3 separate regions of the Homo sapiens genome follow, and all the other regions are linked to region 3. Evidence: promoter capture Hi-C in human tissues and cell types (Jung and others, 2019). All regions are on one chromosome and are shown on one strand. The core of a region is centred on a gene start or on the middle of the fragment in contact, and the rest is flanking DNA. Distances in the headings are between cores, read along the strand shown.

What was found. Contacts are between HindIII fragments. The study calls those that stand out against the background at their distance.
Region 1: a contact is called between a fragment that was not itself captured here and the fragment with the promoter of FRMD5 in region 3, in 1 of the 25 tissues and cell types used here (dorsolateral prefrontal cortex).
Region 2: a fragment that was not itself captured here is called in contact with the fragment with the promoter of FRMD5 in region 3 in 1 of the 25 tissues and cell types used here (H1 embryonic stem cells).

What each region holds. Positions count from the first base shown.
Region 1 is chr15:44,003,052-44,007,231 of GRCh38, reverse strand. The region is part of intron 1 of FRMD5 (FERM domain containing 5); the gene reads left to right. Among named protein-coding and RNA genes, the nearest start is that of WDR76, 180 kb to the right of the region's middle. The HindIII fragment of the contact is 6,821 bases long and covers 1-4,180 here.
Region 2 is chr15:44,040,091-44,044,195 of GRCh38, reverse strand. All of the region lies in intron 1 of FRMD5 (FERM domain containing 5), which reads left to right. Among named protein-coding and RNA genes, the nearest start is that of FRMD5, 150 kb to the left of the region's middle. The HindIII fragment of the contact is 3,758 bases long and covers 424-4,105 here.
Region 3 is chr15:44,192,785-44,196,874 of GRCh38, reverse strand. It overlaps FRMD5 (FERM domain containing 5), which reads left to right and starts at 1,604. Exons shown (of 14, transcript NM_032892.5): 1 at 1,604-1,922. The coding sequence starts at 1,821. RefSeq lists enhancers at 1,104-1,203, 719-1,218, 1,219-1,720 and silencers at 2,054-2,103, 2,214-2,273. The HindIII fragment of the contact is 20,453 bases long and covers 1-4,090 here.

The DNA of each region.
Region 1 (4,180 bases), core at 153-2,652, 190 kb after region 3:
GGCTGGAAAAAAACATTTATATATTTTAATTTAAAAATGCTTTGTTGCTAAAAAAAAAAATGGTAACAATTACCTGAGCCTTCAGCAAGTTAAAATCTTTTGGCTGGTGGAAGGTCCTGCCTTGATGTTGACAGCTGCTGACTGGTCAGGGTGGTGGCTGCTGAAGGTGGCTGTGACAATTTCTTATAATAAGATAAGATAACCATGAAGTTTGGCACATCAGTGGACTCTTCCTTTTATGAAAGATTTCTCTGTAGCATGCAATGCTGTTTAACTGCATTTTACCCACAGTAGAACTTCTTTCAAAATTGGAGTCAATCTTCTCCAATCCTGCCACTGCTTTATCAACTAAGTTTATGGGATATTCTAAATCCTTTGTTGTCATTTCAACAATGTTCACAGCATCTTCACCAGGAGTAGTTTCCATCTCAAGAAACCACTTTCTCTGCTCATCCATAAGATCTTGAGATTGCGGCAATTCAGTCACATCTTCAGGTTCAACTTCTAATTCTAGTTTTCTTGCTATCTCTACCACATCTGCAGTTACTTCCTCCACTGACAGCTTGAAATCAAGGGTTGGAATCAACTTTTTCCAAACTCCTGTTAATGTTGATAATTTGACTTCTCCCCATGAGCCACAGATGTTCTTAATGGCATCTAGAATGATGGCATTCAGTTCTTCAATTTACTTTGCCTAGATCCATCAGAGGAATCACTATTCATGCAGCTATAGTCTTATGAAATGTATTTCTTAAAATAACACTTGAAAGTGCAAATTACTCCTTGATCCATGGGCTACCAACTGGATGTTAGCAAGCATGAAAACAACATTAATCTCCTGTACATCTCCATCAGATCTCTTTGGTAATCAGGTAGAGTGTCAGTGAGCAGTAATATTTTGAAAGGATTTTTTTTTCTTTTTGAGCAGCAGGTCTCAACAATGAACTGAAAATATTCTGTAAACCATGCTGTAAACAGATGTACTGTCACCCATGCTTTGTTGTTTCATTTATAGAGCACAGGCACAATATATTTAGCATAATTCTTAAAGATCCTGGGATTTTTAGAATGGTAAATGAGCATTGGGCCTCAGTTTAAAGTCACCAGCTGCATTATCCTTTAATCTGAGTCAGCCTGTCCTTTGAAGCTTTGAAGCCAGACGTTGACTTTACTCCATCTATGAAAGTCCTAGATGGCATCTTCTTCCAGTGGAAGGCTGTTTAATCTACATTGAAAATCTGTTGTAGCCACCTTCATAAGTGATCTCAGGTAGATCTTCTGGGTAACTTGCTGCAGCTTCTGTATCAGCACTTACTACTTCATCTTGCACTTTTATGTTATGGAGATGGTGATATGGTTTGAATGTGTGTCCCTGCCCAGATCTCATGTTGAAAGATAATCCCCAGTGCTGGAGGTAGGGCCTGGTGGGAAGTGATTGGATCTGGTGGGGGTGGCTTCTCATGAATGGTTTAGCATCATCCCCCTAGTGCTGTTCTTGGGATAAGAGTTATCATGAGATCTGGTTGTTTAAAAGTGTGTAGCACCTTCCCCTCACTCTTTTCCTCGTGCTCCGGCCATGTGAGATGCCTTGCTTCCCCTTTGCCTTCCACCATGATTGTAAGTTTCCTGAGGCCTCCCAAGAAATAGAAGCCGCTGTATTTCCTTTATAGCCTGCAGAACTGAGTCAATTAAACCTCTTTTCTTTGTAAATTACCCACTCTCAGATATTTCTTTTTTCTTTTTTTTTTTTTTTTTTTTTTGAGATGGAGTTTCACTCTTTTTGCCCAGGCTGGAGTGCAATGGCGTGATCTCGGCTCACTGCAGCCTCCACCTACCGGGTTCAAGTGATTCTCCTGCCTCAGCATCCCGAGTAGCTGGGATTACAGGCACATGCCACCATGCCCGGCTGATTTTGTAGAGACGGGGTTTCACCATGTTGGCCAGGCTGGTCTCGAACTCCTGACTTCAGATGATCTGCCTGCCTTGGCCTCGCAAAGTGCTGGATTACAGGCATGAGCCACCACACCCAGCCTCAGGTATTTCTTTATAGCAGTATGAGAGTGGACTTAATACAGATGGCTTCTTTCCTTAAACCTCATGAACCAACCTCTGCCAGCTTCAAACTTGTCTTGTGCAGCTTTCTTATCTCTCTCAGCCTTCACAGAATTGAGAGGTAAGGCCTTGCTCTGGATTTGGCTTTGATTAAAGGGAATGCTGTGTCTTGTGTGATCTTCTATCCAGACCACTAAAACTTTCTGCATATCAGCCTGAAGACTGTTTTACTTTCCTGTTATTCATGTGATCACTGGAGTAGCACTTTAAATTTCCTTCAAGAACTCTTCCTTTGCATTTACAAATTTGGCTATTTGGCTCAAGAAGCCTAGCTTTCAGTCTATCTCAGCTTTCAACCTGCTTTTCTCACTAAGCATAATCATTTTTAGCTTTTGATTTAAAGTTAAAGACATGTGACTTTTCCTCTTACTTGAACACTTACAGGCCATTGAAAGGTTATTAATTGGCTAATTTCAATATTGTTGTGTCTCAGGGTATAGGGAGGCCCAAAGAGAGGGACTGAGTTGGGGGAACAGCTGGTTGATGGAGCTGTGAGGACACATAAAACATTTGTTAAGTTTGCCATCTTCTATGGGCATGGCTTATGGTGCCCCAAAGCAAGTATAGTAGTAACATTAAGGATCACAGATCACTGTAAGAAAAAATAATATTAATGGAAAACTTTGAAATATTGCAAGATTTAACAAAGTGTGACACAGAGACATGAAGTGTGCATGTGCTATTGGAAAAATGGTGCTAGTAGACTTGCTGGATGCCAGGTTGCCACAAACCTTCAATTTATTAAAACAAAAACAAAAACAAAAACATAGTATCTGTGAGTCACAATAAAGTGAAGCACAATAAAATGAGGTATGCTTGTACTGATATGTACACACATAGGTATACATACATGTTAAATAAAAACTATGGCATTTTCTCTGGAAGTTTGATTTAACATTCATTTGAAGTACCTTGGCTCACTGGTGTGGGTGTGTTACTAAATTTCTTGTAAGGACACATTCCTCTTGGAGAGAATGCTGGTTTGAAAAATAAATATGAGAGCTATTGGTCCAAATTGCTATTATAGATTAAAAATCAAATTGTTTTACAGAAAATTTTTAGTCAAACCATGCTGCCAAAATAGGGGGTGAAACAATTCATAATGCTGGGTTCCTAATAATTTATTCATTTAACATCAGCAAATATTTGTTGAGTGTCTACAGCTTGCTGGACACCATTCTAGGCCCCTTTCTTCTTCAGTGAACAAAAGAGACAAAAATTCATGTCCTCATAAATTCTAGCAGTGATCCAGGGGTGGAGAATAAGCAATGAATAATAAACATAAAAAAATTAGTAAATGATATATGGTATATTAGAAAGTGATAAGTGCTGTAGAATACGAAAACATAGAGTAGGGTAAGGAAAATGGGGACTGCTAGAGTTGGATGGGTGGTTGTAATATCAAGTATACGTATCAAATACGGTAGTCAGTGTGGGCCTTGTTGAAGTGAGATTGAACACTTGAAGGAAGTAAAATAATCATTTCTGGCAGAGGAATCATAGCCAAGGGCATAAATAAGATTATAGCTGTAGAGTGTGACAAATAGCAAGGAGGCTATTGTGTTTGGAGTAAAGTAGGATGATGAAGGGAGTAATAGGAGGTGAGGCCAGAAAGTTATAGGGACATTTTTAGGACTCTGGGTTTTACTCTTGAGTGAAATAGGGAACCATCGCAGGGTTTTAACAACCTACATCTGAGTGTTTTGTGATCATTGGAATGTTAAGAGGAGTGATTGAAAGTGACTTACATTTTTAAAAGCACTACCCTGACTGCTATGTTGATGACAGACTGATTAAGGGGCAAGGGTAGAGGCAGGGAGACTAGCTGGGTGCAATCTAGGCCCAAGACGATGGTGGTGGCTTGGACCAGGGTGATTGATAGTGGTGGAGGTGGTAAGATGTGGTTAGATTCTGAATACATTTTGAAGGTAGAACTGATAGGATTTTCTGACAGATTAGATAGATGTGTAGTATGAAAGAGAGAGTAAAGACTCCAGGATGATTCCAGGGTTTTTTATCTGAGCAACTAGAAGGATGGAGTTGCCATCAACTGAAATGGGGTAGGCTG
Region 2 (4,105 bases), core at 1,053-3,552, 150 kb after region 3:
CTCTAATGACCAGTGATGATGAGCTTTTTTTCATATGTTTGTTGGCCACATAAATGTCTTCTTTTGAGAAGTGTCTGTTCATATCCTTCACCCACTTTTTGATGGGGTTTTTTTTTATTGTAAATTTGTTTAAGTTCTTTGTAGATTCTGGATATTAGCCCTTTGTCAGATGGGTAGATTGCAAAAATATTCTCCCATTCTGTAGGTTGCCTGTTCACTCTGATGATAGTTTCTTTTGTTGTGCAGCAGCTCTTTAGTTTAATTAGATCCCATTTGTCAATTTTAACTTTTGTTGCCATTGTTTTTGGTGTTTTAGTCATGCAGTCTTTGCCCACTCCTATGTCCTGAATGGTATTGCCTAGGTTTTCTTCTAGGGTTTTTATGGTTTTAGGTCTTACATTTAAGTCTTTAATCCATCTTGAATTAATTTTTGTATAAGGTGTAAGGAAGGGATCCAGTTTCAGCTTTCTGCATATGGCTAGCCAGTTTTCCCAACACCATTTATTAAATAGGGAATCTTTTCCCTGTTGCTTGTTTTTGTCAGGTTTGTCAATGATCACATGGTTGTGGACATGTGGTGTTATTTCTGAGGCCTCTGTTCTGTTCCATTGGTCTATATATCTGTTTTGGTACCAGTACCATGCTGTTTTTGTTACTGTAGCCTTGTAGTATAGTTTGAAGTCAGGTAGCGTGATGCCTCCAGCTTTGTTCTTTTTTGTTAGGATTCTCTTGGCAATGCGGGCTCTTTTTTGGTTCCATATGAAAGTTAAAGTAGTTTTTTCCAATTCTGTGAAGCAAGTCAGTGGTAGCTTCATGTGGATAGCATTCATTCTGTAAATTACTTTAGGCAGTATGGCCATTTTCATGATACTGATTCTTCCTATCCATGAGCATGGAATGTTTTTCCATTTGTTTGTGTCCTCTCTTATTTCCTTGAGCAGTGGTTTGTAGTTCTCCTTGAAGAGGTCCTTCATGTCCCTTGTAAGTTGTATTCCTAGATATTTTATTCTCTTTGTAGCAATAGTGAATGGGAGTTCACTCATGATTTGGCTGTCTGTCTGTTATTGGTGTATAGGAATGGTTGTGATTATTGCACATTAATTTTTTATCCTGAGACTTTGCTGAAGTTGCTTATCAGCTTAAGGAGATTTTGGGCTGAGACGATGGGGTTTTCTAAATATACAATCATGTCATCTGCAAATAGGGACAATTTGACTTCCTCTTTTCCTAATTGAATACCCTTTATTTCTTTCTCTTGCCTGATTGCCCTGGCCAGAACTTCCAATACTATGTTGAATAGGAATGGTGAGAGAGGCTATCCTTGTCTTGTGCCGGTTTTCAAAGGGAATGCTTCCAGTTTTTGCCCATGCAGTATTATATTGGCTGTGGGCTTGCCAGAAATAGCACTTATTATTTTGAGATACGTTCCATCAGTAGCTAGTTTATTGAGAGTTTTTAGCATGAAGGCTGTTGAATTTCGTCAAAGGCCTTTTCTGCATCTATTGAGATAATCATGTGCTTTTTGTTATTGGTTCTGTTTATGTGATGGATTACGTTTATTGATTTGCGTATGTTGAACCAGCCTTGCATCCCAGGGATGAAGCTGACTTGATCGTGGTGGATAAGCTTTTTGATGTGCTGCTGGATTCAGTTTGCCAGTATTTTATTGAGGATTTTCGCATTGATGTTCATCAGGGATATTGGCCTAAAATTTTCTTTTTTGGTTGTGTCTCTGCCAGGTTTTGGTATCAGGATGATGCTGGCCTCATAAAATGAGTTAGGGAGGATTTCCTCTTTTTCTATTGTTTGGAATCATTTCAGAAGCAATGGTACCAGCTCTTCTTTGTACCTCTGGTAGAATTCGGGTGTGAATCCATCTGGTCCTGGACTTTTTTTGATTGGTAGGCTATTACTGCCTCAATTTCAGAACTTGTTGTTGGTCTATTCAGGGATTCAACTTCTTCCTGGTTTAGTCTTAGGAGGGTGTATGTGTCCCGGAATTTATCCATTTCTTCTAGATTTTCTAGTTTATTTGCTTAGAGGTGTTTATAGTATTCTCTGATGGTAGTTTGTATTTCTTTGGGATTGGTGGTGATATCCCCTTTATCATTTTTTATTGCATCTATTTGATTCTTCTCTCTTTTCTTCGTTATTAGTCTGGCTAGTAGTCTATCTATGTTGTTGATCTTTTCAGAAAACCAGCTCTTGGATTCATTGATTTTTTTGAGGGGTTTTTCATGTCTCTATCTCCCTCAGTTCTGCTCTGATCTTAGTTATTTCTTGTCTTCTGCTAGCTTTTGAATTTGTTTGCTCTTGCTTCTCTAGTTCTTTTAATTGTGATGGTAGGGTGTTGATTTTAGATCTTTCCTGCTTTCTCTTGTGGGCATCTAGTCCTATAAATTTCCCTCTACACCCTGCTTTAAATGTGTCACAGAGATTCTGGTACGTTGTGTCTTTGTTCTCATTCGTTTCAAAGAACATCTTTATTTCTGCCTTCATTTCATTATGTACCCAGTAGTCATTCAGGAGCAGGTTGTTCAGTTTCCATGTAATTGTGCGATTTTGCATGAGTTTCTTAATCCTGAGTTCTAATTTGATTGCACTGTAGTCTGAGAGACTGTTTGTTATGATTTCTGTTCTTTTGCATTTGCTGAGGAGTGTTTTACTTCCAATTATGTGGTCAATTTTAGAATAAGTGTGATGTGGTGCTGAGCAGAATGTATATTCTGTTGATTTGGGGTGGAGAGTTCTGTAGATGTCTATTATGTGGTCAATTTTAGAATAAGCGCAATGTGGTGCTGAGCAGAATGTATATTCTGTTGATTTGGGGTAGAGAGTTCTGTAGATGTCTCCTTGGTCCAGAGCTGAGTTCAAGTCCTGGATATCCTTGTTAATTTTCTGTCTCGTTGATCTCTCTTGTGTTGACAGTGGGTGTTAAAGTCTCCCAGTATCATTGTGTGGGAGTCTAAGTCTCTTTGTAGGTCTGTAAGAACTTTGCTTTATGAACCTGGGTGCTCCTATATTGGGTACATGTATATTTAGGATAGCTATCTCTTCTTGTTGCATTGATCCCTTTACCCTTATGTAACGCCCTTCTTTGTCACTTTTGGTCTTTGTTGATTTAAAGTCTGTTTTATCAGAAACTAGGATTGCAACCCCTGCTTTTTTTTTTTTTTTTTTTTTTTTTTTTTTTTTTTTTTTTTGCTTTCCATTTCCTTGGTAAATATTCCTCCATCCCTTTATTTTGAGCCTACGTGTGTCTTTGCAGATGAGATGGGTCTCCTGAATACAGCACACTGATGGGTCTTGACTCTTTATCCAATTTGCCAGTCTGTGTGTTTTAATTGGGGCATTTAGCCCATTTACATTTAAGGTTAATATTGTTATGTGTGAATTTGATCCTGTCATTATGATGCTAGCTGGTTATTTTACCTGTTAGTTGATGCAGTTTCTTCATAGTGTGGATAGTCTTTACAATTTGGTATGTTTTTGCAGTGGCTGGTACTGGTTGTTCCTTTCCATGTTTAGTGTTTCCTACAGGAGCTCTTGTAAGGCAGGCCTGGTGGTGACAAAATCTCTCAACATTTGCTTGTCTGTAAAATATTTTATTTCTCCTTTGCTTATGAAGCTTAATTTGGCTGGATATGAAATTCTGGGTTGAAAATTTTTTTCTTTAAGAACATTGAATATTGGCCCCCACTGTCTTCTGACTTGTAGGGTTTCTGTCAAGAGATCTGCTGTTAGTCTGATGGGTTTCCATTTGTGGGTAACCTGACCTTTCTCTCTGGCTTCCCTTAACATTTTTTCCTTCATTTCAACCCTGGTGAATCTGACTATTATGTGTCTTGGGGTTGCTCTTCTCGAGGAGTATCTTTGTGGTGGTCTCTGTATTTCCTGAATTTGAATGTTGGCATGCCTTGTTAGGTTGGGGAAGTTCTTCTGAATAATATCCTGAAGTGTTTTCCAACTTGGTTCCATTCTCCCTGCTACTTTCAGGTACACCAATCAAATGTAGATTTGGTCTTCTCACATAGTCCCATATTTCTTGGGGGCTTTCTTTTCACTCTTATTTCTCTAATCTTGTCTTTTGCTTTATTTCATTGAG
Region 3 (4,090 bases), core at 355-2,854:
CTATGGCTATTAAATGCCACAAAGGAGAATGCAACCAATTAAGAGCAGTCCAGGTTACTAAGGTGATAGAAAGAAAAAGGGGGAGGGAGAGGGGGAGGAAGAGAGAGAGAGAGAGAGAGAGAAAGAGAGAGAGAGAGAGAGAATGAAAGAGAATGAATCTCCCCATGCAAAAAAAAAAAAAAAAATTGGGGAAAATATTGGAATCCAAAGACACTAGGGAAGAAGCATACTTTAAAGGCGGGATAGTTTTCTAGGCTAATGTAGAGTTTCATTTTTGTTACACATTATACCTATAAACAAGAACAGTGCAAATGAAAGTAATAGGAAATTATGCCTATTTCATTATTTTAAATTAATATATTTATTACAGCATTAATGTTCTATGTTGACACGATTATTTTTTTTTTTTGAGACGGTGGCTTGCTCTTGTCCCCCAGGCTGGAGTGCAATGGCCGTGATCTTGGTTCACTGCAACCTCTGCCTCCTGGGTTCAAGCGATTCTCCTGCCTCAGCCTCCCGAGTAGCTGGGATTACAGGTGCGTGCTACCATGCACGGCTAATTTTTTTGTATTTTTAGTAGAGACGGGGATTCACCATGTTGGTCAGGCTGGTTTCGAACTCCTGACATCAGGTGATCCGCCCGCCTCGGCCTCCCAAAGTGCTGGGATTACAGGCTTGAGCCACTGCGCCCGGCCGACATAATTATTTTATAACATTTCCTCACATCAAAAATCTTTGAGGGAGAATATCTCTTATTGAAGTTCTGGTAAAAAACCTTGAAGTCTGTAAATTTGGGGTGACAAAGAGAAGGAGACAATTCTTTGTGATGTATACCTCCTGACATACTATGTTGTTCTATTGAGAAAGTCTGAAGACATAATTTCCAGTTCTAAAAGTGCAAGGAGAAGATTCATTGCTTCCTCTGCTCCCTACCAGCTGAAGGAGCAGTCTCCTTTTGTCTTCTGAAATAAAAAGGAGGCAAAGGGTGTTAGAGTGGAGGGTTTTTTAGGGGATTAAACCTGGGTACTTCAGAACCTCTGAGGTCCCTTTAGCTTTTATTTAAGTAGCTCCTGTTTCCCAAAATAAGAGGGCTGGAGCACAGAGGCCAGACGGGCCAACTTAGGGTACAGCACAGGTCGGGGGCAGTCGCCCTATCTGGAGCGAGAGGTATCCGCATTCTGCAGGTGCAGGGACTGTGATCCAGCACCCTGCCGCCTCCTCGCTCCGGCTCCCAAGAGGGCGGGAACCGCGGTGTTGCAGGGTGCGAGGCTTGGCTTCGGAAACGCAGATCAAGTGTATTTCAGGCGGCAGACATCAATCCAGTTGGGTGCTCACACCTGGCCCGGGGGAGGGGAAACAGCATCCATAGGAACCACGGGGCGGAGAGGAACCCCTCGTTTGGGACGCTAGAGGGCTGCTCCGGCTTGACTAGGTCCGACTGCTTTTCTGTGATTGCTTCTTTATCCCGCCCATCATCCCAGTACTCTATCTCGATTGGCTTTTCGGTCTGCCACTCGGTTCCGCCGCGCTGACCCCCATTGGCCCCCTCCAGTTGAGGCCCCGCCCCGCGAGCTGGGCACGGGCACTGGGGCGCCGAGGAGACAGAGCCCGGCGCTTGATCTGGGCTGGGGGGAGGCGGTGGCGGCTGAGGGAAGGAGGAGGATAAGGAGGAGGAACGAGGCCAGCAGGAGGCAACGGCAGCGACGGGGCCGGGGTGATGGTGCAGGTGCCTGGGGTCGGTGCGGAGCTGCCGGGCTGAGGGACGCCTGGTCCAGGGTCCGCAGCGCCGCCGCGTCGCTCCCGGGCGGGCGGGCGGGAAGATGCTGAGCAGGTTGATGAGCGGCAGCAGCAGGAGCCTGGAGCGCGAGTACAGCTGCACCGTGCGGCTGCTGGACGACAGCGAGTACACCTGCACCATCCAGGTCAGCGCCGCGCCGCCCCGCCCCGCCCGCGGGACCCCCTTGTCCCCCAAGTCTGGTCAACTTGGCCGGCGGCGGCCGCCGCCCAGGGGTCGCCCCAGCCCCAGCGCCGTGCTTTGTCCGTTCCTGGTTGCGGCGGACCGCCCTAGTGCAGGGCGTCTTCACCGGAGCCCCTGCCGGAGCCCTGGCACCCGGTGTGTCACCGCCGCCGCGGGGCGAGTCTCCGCGTCCCACACCCCTAAGTCCTACCCTGCTCTCCCTGGGTGAGGGCGCCCCGTCCTGGTTCCTCGAGCCCGCCCGAGTAAGGTGCACCTTTCCGGGGCGCCCGGAGGGAGGCGGGTAGGGCGGTAGGCTCCTAGCCCGGCCGCCCCGTCGGGGGCGCAGGCTTTGGCTCTCTGCCCGGGCAAGGACGTATGGCTGGCTTTTCTTATCTTTCTTGGGTTGGAAGGATAATGGTTTATGTCATAATTCCTCCCCCCACCATTTGTGAGTCAGAGCTTTCAGAAGGTAGAACTGAACGCGCAGCCCATGCGGAGTGGCCTATTGAAGGAAGCCCAGTCCTCTGGGTTTTAGAGATTTAGGCCCCCTCCCGCCTTTTGATCCCCAAATTTTATTGTGTTGGGCGGTTCTAGGGGACGTGAGGTAAAGATTTAGCAACAAGTCCCAGCGATTTGGGGCTTGGAAGTGGCCAGGAAGAATCGGCGACTTAGGAAAAACGCCAACAATACGGTAATGCTCAACAGCATTTCTTTCAGAACCTGGTATTTTTGAAGGGATTTTTACAACCTCTTGCTCATGTTCCTTCGCTACTGCTGTGTGCACGTCAGGAGTAGTAGTCTTTCCCGGGAATGCAGTCACAGCCCTCTCTCCTCCCTTATGAAAAAGTCAGAGATTGAAAACATTGACAATGCTCCCGTGTTTAGTTCATCAGCCAGGAGGATCCTGCGCTCATCGCCGGAAGCTGCTCTTTGTGGAGAAGCTAATTGAGCTGGACCCAGAGGGGTCTCACCTGATCCTTTGCCTTTGCAGCAGGAAAACAGGAGGAGGCTTCTGGCTCAGATGTGACAGACAAAAACTGTCGGCCTGGGTCCTACCCTCAGTGTCTTCTTGCCCCCCGCCTCCTTATTTATTTATTTTTGCTGACAGTGCTCAATCGCGGAAAATAGCGGTGTGTGAGAAAGACACTGGGTAGTGTATGAGAGCAGCTGGTCTCTGCTGACTCCGTGCTCAGTTCAGCCTTCTCCTCACTTTCCCTTTTCTCCCTCCCCTCGAAACCAGCTCTGGGCATAAGTGCTGACTGCTGCCAAAGATCCATGAGGGTAGAGAAAGAGCACAAAATCTCTTTTTAAGGCTACTTAAATACAGACTAAGCAGTCATAAAGATGCTAGCCATCAAGTGAAAGGATTTTTGTAGTTGAATATGATAGAGAGATGCTCTGTATTATTTCCTTGCTGAATGAGTGGAATACTACTTTTTGTTCCTATTGTATCATTGTGCCATGTCCAGTTTTTTTTTGCTTTTTTTGTTTTGCTGGGGTATGAGAATACATTGAGTTGATATCTTCACCATTTGAGTATATTGTCTAGAGCTTTTTAAAAGTCTTTATCCTTTTGTTTTAAAATTTAAAGCATTTATCCAATAGCATATCAAGGGGAGTGTGAGATTTAGACTTTATAAGTCCTAAGAATACTTTTGGGGTATGTGAAATAATTTCCGAGGCAGGTCATTAACTTTTGCCAAGGTGTAGAATACAAATAAAACACAATTCACATCACCATTTCGCTAGAAATGATTGTTAACCTTGTGGTTTTAAAGTATTGCAGTGAGGCAAATAGTTATTTTTTTCCCAGTTAGTGGAACCTTTGAGGTTGCTTGATTGGTATTATAATTGTGGGTAGTTTTTATTACCATTTAGAAAAAAAATATTTTTGAGTTAAATAGGACTTATTGGATTTGTGCTTGCTATATCCCACTATAGCTGTACTTATTTTCCTACTGCTCTCATTTTACATTATTACAATTTAATTTTATAAAATATCTAGGCCACCTAAAAAATTAAGCTTGGTGTAATATGGCCACACTGTAGTAAGTGTCCACTGTCTAGACATGTTAATGATTGTGCATTGTGATTTTTGCATGGAATCTAAAGAACACAGGGATTGTTAAGTAT